Linked DNA regions of Homo sapiens: regions 2 and 3 are each linked to region 1. Evidence: promoter capture Hi-C in 16 types of primary human blood cells and fetal thymus (Javierre and others, 2016). All regions are on one chromosome and are shown on one strand. The core of a region is centred on a gene start or on the middle of the fragment in contact, and the rest is flanking DNA. Distances in the headings are between cores, read along the strand shown.

The links. The method cuts DNA at HindIII sites, captures the fragments that hold promoters and counts their contacts. A CHiCAGO score of 5 or more calls a contact.
Region 2: a fragment that was not itself captured here is called in contact with the fragment with the promoter of PVT1 in region 1 in 2 of 17 cell types (total B cells and naive B cells); the score reaches 6.5 in total B cells.
Region 3: a contact is called between a fragment that was not itself captured here and the fragment with the promoter of PVT1 in region 1, in 1 of 17 cell types (total B cells). The highest score is 6.1, in total B cells.

Annotation. Positions count from the first base shown.
Region 1 is chr8:127,792,664-127,795,908 of GRCh38, forward strand. PVT1 (Pvt1 oncogene) reads left to right here and starts at 1,861. Exons shown (of 9, transcript NR_190187.1): 1 at 1,861-2,071. RefSeq lists enhancers at 271-841, 1,984-2,553, 2,554-3,125, 2,847-2,896, 2,997-3,245 and silencers at 1,567-1,616, 1,637-1,696, 1,707-1,866. The HindIII fragment of the contact is 6,547 bases long and covers 1-3,245 here.
Region 2 is chr8:128,186,221-128,189,484 of GRCh38, forward strand. LOC124902020 (a long non-coding RNA gene) reads left to right here. Exons shown (of 5, transcript XR_007061107.1): 5 at 336-542. Among named protein-coding and RNA genes, the nearest start is that of MIR1208, 38 kb to the left of the region's middle. The HindIII fragment of the contact is 835 bases long and covers 1,290-2,124 here.
Region 3 is chr8:128,269,001-128,272,162 of GRCh38, forward strand. No RefSeq gene overlaps it. Among named protein-coding and RNA genes, the nearest start is that of MIR1208, 120 kb to the left of the region's middle. The HindIII fragment of the contact is 2,215 bases long and covers 166-2,380 here.

The DNA.
Region 1 (3,245 bases), core at 611-3,110:
GTCACAGCCTTTGGTTTCTGGAAAAAATGATTAAGCAGTGAAAGGATTAAGGTCTCACAGCTCCTATCGCATGATGTATAGATGCAGAGGTTTCTCATCATCTTCTTTTTATATTTTAAAAGATGGATGACAACTAGATGCCAACTGCAGCTCAGGCACCTGCCCAGTCCCTCTCAGAGCCGGGCACAAAACAGACACCTGTCTAGCCCCTCACAGAGAGCCAGGCACAAAACAGACACCTGTCCAGCCCCTCACAGAGAGCCAGGCACAAAGCGGAGACTTGTCCAGCTCCTGGCAAGGAGCCAGGCACAAAAGAGATGCCCATGAGTGTAAATGAATCTGTGAAACAGGCAGAACAGGAGCATCAACTGAGTAATTGTTTTTTCTTTTTCAAATAAGAACATTTGCGTTGAGAAGCCGCCACGGGAAGAGATGTGATGAAACACTACACAGAAAGAGGGAGGAGCCTCCGGGTAGGTTGGAGTGAGTAGGATGTAGGGTAGCCGGCAGGGGAGAAGAGGGGCAACCTTCTGTTCCGTAATATTGATACCACCCATTTGTGTGTCCAATTTTTGCTGGTTTGTGACGTCCTTCTAGGGTCCATGAGTAACCCCCACCCCATTGCCTAGCTGGGTGCCTGACTCCCCTTAAGTGCTCAGTAGACGTTGAACTGGACGGGCGCTGGCGTGGTGGCTCACGCCTGTAATCCCAGCAATTTGGGAGGCCGAAGCGAGTGGATCATCTCAGGTTCGGAGTTCGAGACCAGCCTGGCCAACATGGTGAAACCTTGTCTCTGCTAAAATTACAAAAATTAGCTGGGCGTGGTGGCGCGCGCCTGTGATCCCAGCTACTCCGGAGGCTGAGGCAGGAGAATCGCTTGAACCAGGCAGGCGGAGGTTGCAGTGAGCCATGATCGGGCCACTGCACTCCAGCCTGGGTGACAGAGTGAAACTTCATCTCTAAATAAATAAATAAATAAATAAATAAATAAATAAATAAAATAAACTTTGAACTGAACAGGGGCAGCTCTTACATCTGTCCAGTCTCGGGTTTATGCAGATAGAACAAGATAACCACATCCCACATGGGAGGCCAGTGTCCACTTGCTCCTTTGGAGGAACTACTGGGCATTTAAGGGACTCGTTGAACACACTCTGTAGGTCAACTCTGCCCGGAGTGGAGGGAGCTGCGCAGACCGCTGGCCCTCTGCACGGGTTTGCAACTCGGCTTCTGGAAACAGCGGGAGACGTCGAAGGAGGCGAGAAGGTGCGCGCGCCCTTCTCACCAGGCCGGCGGATGCTGGGTGGTACCCAAAGAGGCGCTCAGATCACTGGAGCTGGAGCTCAGTCGGCGGTCTTCTGCGGGAACTGCACCTATCCCGGAGCATCTCTGGCCCTCCTATTTCACTGAACTCGCCTTCCTCAGCAGGAAAGTGGGAAGACCGCTTGCTTCCAGGACGGTGTGGGGAAGGGTAAGAGGGCTCAGGGAAAGACCGTGGAAAGCTCGGCGCACAAGCGAGCTGGCATCACCGGGGATTCCCTCCGGCCCGGTGGGACTCCGGCGCGCTTGTAGCGAGGACCCCCAGCCCAGGGCAGAGCCTACCCTCCGCTCCCCCAGTCTGGGCCCTTGGCGGCCGCAGTCGCCCAAGCCCGCCCCGCCTCCGCGCGCGGCCCTCTCCGGCTCAGTGCCCTGCGCTGCCGGGAAGCAGGCTGAGGGGCGCACCGGGCGGCGGGCGGGGACCTGGGGAAGGCCGGGAGCGCCGGGACCGAGGACGCACGCGGCGGGCCGGGCCGCGCGCGCCTCCCCCCTCCCCCGAGGCCCGAGCGCGAGCCGCCGTGACGTCACGGGCAACCCGCCAGCCCCGCGCTCCTCCGGGCAGAGCGCGTGTGGCGGCCGAGCACATGGGCCCGCGGGCCGGGCGGGCTCGGGGCGGCCGGGACGAGGAGGGGCGACGACGAGCTGCGAGCAAAGATGTGCCCCGGGACCCCCGGCACCTTCCAGTGGATTTCCTTGCGGAAAGGATGTTGGCGGTCCCTGTGACCTGTGGAGACACGGCCAGATCTGCCCTCCAGTAAGTTCCAATTTTGTCCCCTGCGTTTCTGGAAACTCTCGAGACTTGGCCCTGAGTAGGGATGCGCTGTGAGTAGTCGGACGGAGGAAAGGGGCTTTCGGAATCCAATATGTGTGTGCTAGGCGTGCACTGTCCTCATCACCAGCCTCAAGACTGGTGGCGAGTTTGGGCGTTTGGGGAGGGTGAGGGGAGGGGGATGACACCGAATGGCCGGTGCATAGAGGCAATTCTGGATTTATGAACTTGATCAAAGGCATATTAACTAATTTCTAAAAATAGACCCCTCTGCAGTCAGAACAGATTTGGAGCCATGATGTGGTTTGGAGGCCCCTCTGGCGAAACTAGAGGTCTGTGAATGTGTGATCCTCCCTCCATCCTTTGACCATCACTCCCCGCTTCCTCTCACACCCCCTCAGGGCTGGGCGAAGGTGATTTCCAAAAACTCAGTAACTCCGTGTTTTGAGACTTTCTCAGTTTTTGCATCGCATGTGAGGGTTTGTTGGGTGCTCCTAAACCCTCATCATGGTCATTCTTCTTGGCTGGGCTGTTGATTTAATTAGGTTTGCCTTCTCTTGCTAACGTGCTCTTATTTATGCCAGTGTTTGTGGTTCTGGGTGTAGACTTTCAGGAAGCACAGCCATGAAGCTGCATGCGTCTGTGTGTGGATGCCTCATGCCTTTTCCTGGTGGTTTGCAGGCATGGAAGATTCTTCTGTTCATCTAAGCTCCTGACTTTAGGCCCTTCTAGAACATTAGAGAGGAGAAGAAATCACGTGCAAGGATTTAGGGACAAGAGGATGAGGTTTTGGTGTTTCCTTTCTGGTATTAGGTTTTCCAGAGAGAGGCTGTTAGCCTGTCTCTCGCCCACTCCACCACTGTGAATCCTGGCTACTGGGGCTAGTTCCTTGCTAGGAAAAAAAAACTCTAGAGAAATGTGTTTGTGTGTGGTGGGTGGGCGGGGGCCCTGAGGATGCAGGGACTGTGTCTGCTGTGTTGTCTGTTATAAGATGTTTCAGACCTATTTTGCATACTGGCAGCGACAAGTTGAGACTTGTTCAACTTGACACAGTCCTGTGGTCATAGCGAATCTTTCTAAAGCTCTGATCAGTCAAGAAGGGGGTTGTATCAATCCTCAGAACCCTGAGTGGAACTTTCTACAGGATTTATTAGGAGAA
Region 2 (3,264 bases), core at 457-2,956, 390 kb after region 1:
CTCTCATGGACAGAGTCTGGAGCATTCTGCTTTCTGCATCTATGGGTCATCAGTCACAGGGCTGCCATGTCCATAATCCACAGTCTCTTGCTATTTTTACCATGAAACTGGGAGCACCTTAACCCTGTAGACTCAATCCCTAGCTCTGTGCCCATTAACACAGAATAAATAGCTAGTAGTGGTGTTTCTGGTTTAAAGGGCCTGCACTTTTTAAGGTTTTGATGAATACTCCCTAATTATTCTACAAAAAGACTTTACCAAGTTCAAGTTTCTTTCCCAATAATCTATGGCAATAATTTCAATCTCCCTCTTCCCTTTTTTTTTTTAACTTCTAGGTAAACATAAGAAAGGAAAACTTTTGTACGGTGAACTTGGGCTAAAAAGAAGAATGATGTCTCTGGAACTTTTGCTGCTTATAGGAATGAGAGCAAAATCCTGGCATGACCATGATCCTTCAATGAGCACCACTGTGTTGCTGCATTCTGTCTGGCCAATCTAGTCTATAATAGTTTTTTGTTTTGTTTTGATTTTTGTGTGTTTTTTTGTTTGTTTGTTTGTTTTGATGGAGTTTTGCTCTTATTGCCCAGGCTGGAGTGCAATGGCATGATCTCAGCTCACTGCAACCTCCTCATCCCAGGTTCAAGCGATTCTCCTGCCTCAGACTCCTAAATACCTAGGATTACAGGCACCTGCCACCATACCCAGCTAATTTTTGTATTTTTGATAGAGATGGGGTTTCACCATGTTGGCCAGGCTTGTCTGGAACTCCTGACCTCAGGTGATCCACCTGCCTCGGCCTCCCAAAGTGCTGGGATTACAAGTGTGAGTCATCACTTTCGGCTATAATAGTTTTTATGCATCATATTAATTCTGGGTTTTTGCTTTTAAAAAGAAGCCTTTTTTTTTTTTTTTTTTTTTTTTGTAGGGAAGTAAGACTGGATGGTGGGTTAGCAGGGGACTCGAGAAAAGGCAGTCAGTGCTACAGGCGCAGGGATATTAACCTCAGGAGTGACCAGTGGGATGCAACCAGCCGTTGGGGCTTAAAACTCAAGCACATTTCTCGGATGATAATTTCAAAGAAGTAGCTAGTTTTGGTTGAGGCTGCCTCTGGACTATCCCCAGCTTCTCAGTGGAACTCGGTGTTTCTGAATGAATCACAATAAAGAAGCATTACTTGTGGGATGTGGCCAACCTTTCTGTTCAGCTTTTATTGCAGAGCTGATGGCAGCAGCTGGACTTTACAAAGGTGATGGTGGCTCAAAGCCTTTCTGTTCCACTGTGTCTCATAAAGCTTTTATGAAGCCTCAGTCATCTCTTCAGCAGATCCTGTGTCATGAAGAAGGATGCAGAGAACACAAGGAGCACCCCATCCATGGTGCATCCCAGGTTTCTAAACCTTCCAGGGAGGGGAAATCAGCATTTTTGGCTCTGGCCAAGAAGCCAAATTGCTGAAGCTATGGGACTTGTTCCAAACTGCAAGATCTTATTTGATGGGAATGATTGTAGCTTTAGGTAATTCTGCGGCTTATTGGCTTGGGTGAGAGCTCCCTAGTGTCTGCTGGAATGTGATGGCTGTAAGACGCAGGGAGGAGAAATGGAAAAGGAGCGTCTTTATTGACCCAACAGAGCCTTGTAAAAAAGCACCAACTACATATATGCAGTCTGTGCATTTCAAAAGTAACAAACAAACAAAATCAGTTTACCAACTCTTGGGAGAGAAAATGGATTATCATTCACTGCAAATTCTCCTAGGTAAACAGAAGAGTGCTACACCTGTGCAGAGAGAAAAGTTTTATATATGCTCAACTATGGGTCCTCAGTATAATACAGTCCCATCATGTATTTCCTGAGACATCTACTAAGGAGACTTCCTAGAATTGAATCTTTCTCATCTTTTTTTCTCTTTTCTTCCTCAAGTCTTCTGTGACATGTGATAATACAAAACAAAATACAGGTCTTAGAATAAATGTACCTGGAATCAAGTCATTGTGAAATGTTGGGCTTCTTTGACCCTCAGTATTCCCATCGCAAACCAGGAATAATAAGACCTGCATTTCTCCATTGACCATTAGTAAATTGAGCTTCAATTACCTAGTTAGAGAAAAAGTTAAATATTGCCTCCAAAGCTTAACATGCATTTTAATATTTTTGCTTTCTGCTTTTAAAAATATGCTTCTCATTTTCTTCCCCTGACTAGCTCTTTGACTGCCAGAGAGATGTATAAGCATCTTGAGCTCCACTGGTAGAGTTATGAGTTCTTGAATTTAGAGGTTATTAGAAGAATTTTTTCCTACTGTTTTCATGTAAATTACCACTCAGGAAAAAATGGTGGAATAGAATCTTTTTTCCCTTTTATAGTGTCTTTTTCATTGCTTCCAAATTTTTCATAACTTTTCTACAGCTACCAATACCATCTTATATCATCCAGACTGCCATTGCAATACACTCTTAACTCTTTCCATGCTAGCACATCCTATACACAGCATTCATTCATTCATTCGCTCACTTAGCAAACATACCTGGTAGAGCCTGAACATTCTATTAGGCATTAGACATATTAATGAGTTCAAATATCTTCTTCAGATTCCCATCACTTGTCATATAAATGTCAAGGCCCATTGCCTATGATTCAGAATCCTCTGCATTTACTTATTTCAACCTGCTTTGATACCTTTAACCTACTTTTTCCTTTTTTTTCTTTCTTTTAAGAAATAGGGTCTTGCAATGTTACCCAGGATAGATTTTAACCTGTAGGTTCAAGGGATCTTCCTGCTTCAGCCTCCTGGTTAGTTGGAACTATAGGTGTATGCTGCTGGCCCTGGCTCAACATGCTTTTTAATTCTTTCTCTCCCTACATGGTATTATGAACTCTCAACTCCAGGTGGACCAATCTCCTCTTGTGTCTGTGCCTTTGCTTTGGTGGTCCTCTTCTGGGTGTGCCCGCCTATCTAGATTTCACTTGTTCAAACCTAATATTCAGTGGGAAGTTCAGGTATTGCTGCTTTTGTGAAACTCCCCTGACAACAAAGGTTCATAGGACCCTTGTTGTTTAATATCTGAATTTATATAATTAAAACTGCTAGTTATCTTTTTAAGCATATAGGAAAACAACAAGATTTCAAGATACTTAAATGAAAAGAGAGAAAGATACTGGTTTATCTGTTCTCTCACCTTCCATAGCATCTCATACAGTCTTACTCAACAAACACTTGCCTATTTATTTTTTAAGCCACATAATAACACATAAAAATGGAAAGTGATTCA
Region 3 (3,162 bases), core at 23-2,522, 480 kb after region 1:
TTGGGGTGTGTGCACACACACATACTATGGAAGTTCTCGCATCCTAATGCTTTGTTGTTTAACTATCATGTGGAGAGAGGTGTTTGGACACCATATTAATAATAGCTCTTAGTGTGTATGTGGCACATTCCATTTTCAAGGCATTTATAAACATTGCAAGATGAAAGCTTGCACCACTCATCTTGGGAAAAGGGAATGTTAATCACCACCATGCCTGCTCCTTAAAGAGGGTCACAGAATCTGAGAGCTAAGAGGGATGTCAGAGTTCACTGGGGCAACCTTCAGTCTCTACATAAATCTCCTTTCCCTTGGAGCATACCAGGGATGGTGAGGTTTTCTCTGCAATCTCTTTCTTCAGTCCAAGCAAATTCTGCCATCCTGTAATTTTCAATTATCTATCTGTCGGTCTATCTATTAATCCATTCTCTTCTCCCTCCTTTCTTTCTTCCTTCTTTCCTTTTACTTCTTCTTCTCTTCCTCTCTGCTGTTCTCCCTCCCCCTCTCTCTTTCTTTCTCCCTCCAGAGTCCTGTTGAAATTGCAGATACAGGAACAAAATGTTAAGCGGCTAAATTTGGAGCGAATTGCTACATATCAGTAGATACTGTAACACCTGGGCAGACTGGGAGGTATGATCACCCTATGTGTGTTAATATTTCAGGCAGTGTAGCACCCTGCCACCTTCAGGTTGCTGCTAGCCTTGGTTCTCCTCTGCTTGCTACGGTTCTCTGATTTACAAGCACTCAGGGCTTCAGTTCCAGACCTTGCTTCTCTCAGCTGGCACAGCACCTTCAGATGTTACTCTTGAAACTGCTGCTCTGCCTGAAATAAGTGTATTATTCTCTCTAAAGCACTGACCTAGAGAACACTGACCAAGCTGTCTTTTCTTTTTGGTATATTATAATAGTTAAAATAAAGTGAATGTTTGTAACATGCCTGATATTTCTCAGATACTGTGATAAGTACTTCCATGTACATAATCTTCATCAAAACCCAGTGAGGGAGGTAATATTTGTTATTGCACCTGTAGATCAGGAAGCAGAGGCCCAGAGGTATTTAGTAGCTTGTCCAATGCCTCACAGCTAAGAAGCAATAGAACTAGGATTTGAATCCAGATCTGTCTGGATCTATAACACATACTATTAATATTAATATGGTATTTGTATGCTATTTGGATGCATACAGTGGGTATTTAATAATTATGATACACTCCCTTCCACCCTTTTAAACCAAGCATCCCTTCCACTATTTTATTCCATCAGGAACCTTCTATTTTTAGAGTCTATCTACCAAATAATTATATTTATAAAATAATAAAAATTTTTTCCAGTTTCATATTAACTACAGAAATCAATCTTTTAAGAATAGCGAAATAGCTAGTATTTTACTAGCATTTGCATAGTGCAGTGGTTGTTATACATATTATTTCACTGACTCTTCAATAACCCATGGAGGTTGATATTACCATCTCCATTTTACAAATGAGGAAGCAGAGTCCTGGTGGAGCTGAACTCCTCACAATCACACTGATACTAAGAAACAGAGCTGGGATTAATATTCTGTTTGACTCCAATAAGTCTGTTCTTTGGAGCAAACCCCTTCTTATGGCTGATGGTTATGAAATGACCAGTGCTTCCAAACTGAGCTGTTGCAACTTCAGGAAAAAAAGGACAAATATTTTTAAAATTTTTAATTAATCTATGCAGCTGCACTATGAATAACTGTATTATTTGCAAGGACCTCAGGTCTATTACACTAGATAACCAGTTAATTGCACTAATATTATTTACAGAAGAGATATTAGTAACAACATTGCCAAACTCTGCGTTCAGATTTAACACAATGTTTACTTAAGTAACATGGTTTTGTAATAATAGCAATAATAATATAAATGATATAATCATTAACAATAGCTGCTACTTATGGAGAACTACCACATGCCTAGTTTTGTGGTAAGTACTTTATATATGTTTTTTCCTTCAAATCCTCCATCAAAAATCTGTCATCTTTACTTTACAGGAGTTCTAGTTTCTTCAAAGGTAAGTAAAATATACAAGCTCGTGCTAATATGGGAACTAGGTGCACATCTATCTGACCCCAAAGCCTGGGCTTTAAATCAGTGCAATACTGATTTAAAGTAGAAAAAAAAAAGCATCTAATTTGAAATAAGCATAAAGAATTTCTAGGCATCTGAACAAGGGAATCTTATACCTTGAGACAAAGGAGAACATTCTGAGGACATAGGGGTAGGAGTAGAGATGAGAGGAATCGTTGACGTTTCACAAATCCCAAATTCTAGTGGTGGCCATTCCCTTCCAAATCTTAGATTCAGAGAAGCAGTTATTCCAGATGGTTGGTGCTTATCTTTTTCAATTGATTGGAAGCTTCTTGAGGACAAACTGCTGGAAGACATTCCATAGACCCTGGGAACAGTGTATGGCATATAATAGAGGCTTAACAAATTTCTTCTGAGTTAGTGTGGACTTACGGGAGGGGAGATGGGAGATGTTGTTATTTTCACAGAATGTGGAGAGGCAGACCTCATCAACACAAATCAAAAGTCTCTGTGATAGGAGAAGAATTTGAAATTGAAGTGCAGGTGACATAAAGACAGCCCTTGGGCTCCTTCCTGCTCTGCCAGTGATTAGCTGTGTAGTTCTGAGTGAGCCCATTTTCCCTCTCTGGCCCACAGAGGATGACGTTAGCTGCTTATCTTTACAAGAGAGTTGCTATGAACACCCTAAGGCAGAGCATATGTGTAACTTAGAGTAGATAATAAAATGATATAAATACAACAGCAGTGACGTCAACCACAACAGTGATATAGAGAGCTTCCTTGTGTTGATTACTTACCTAGCATTCTCAGACCTTGTCCTCACAACTACCCTGTGGGTTATTATCTCTCCAGTTTACAGATTAGGAAATTTTGAGATATAATCATTCTTAATTATATAATTATTACACACACACACAAAGTCCTGACATTTGCTCAGTTTTCTGGGAGGTGGCAGAGTAAGAGAGTTGGGGAACCAGTGACAACACCTTGTTGGCCAAAGTAAATCTTCCAGTTAAGTCTAATTCAGATTGTACTGGGAACATCTGTGCCAAACTGGATTCACAAGGGGTTCTTGAAAAGCAGAACTTGCTCTTTTAATCCAACATTT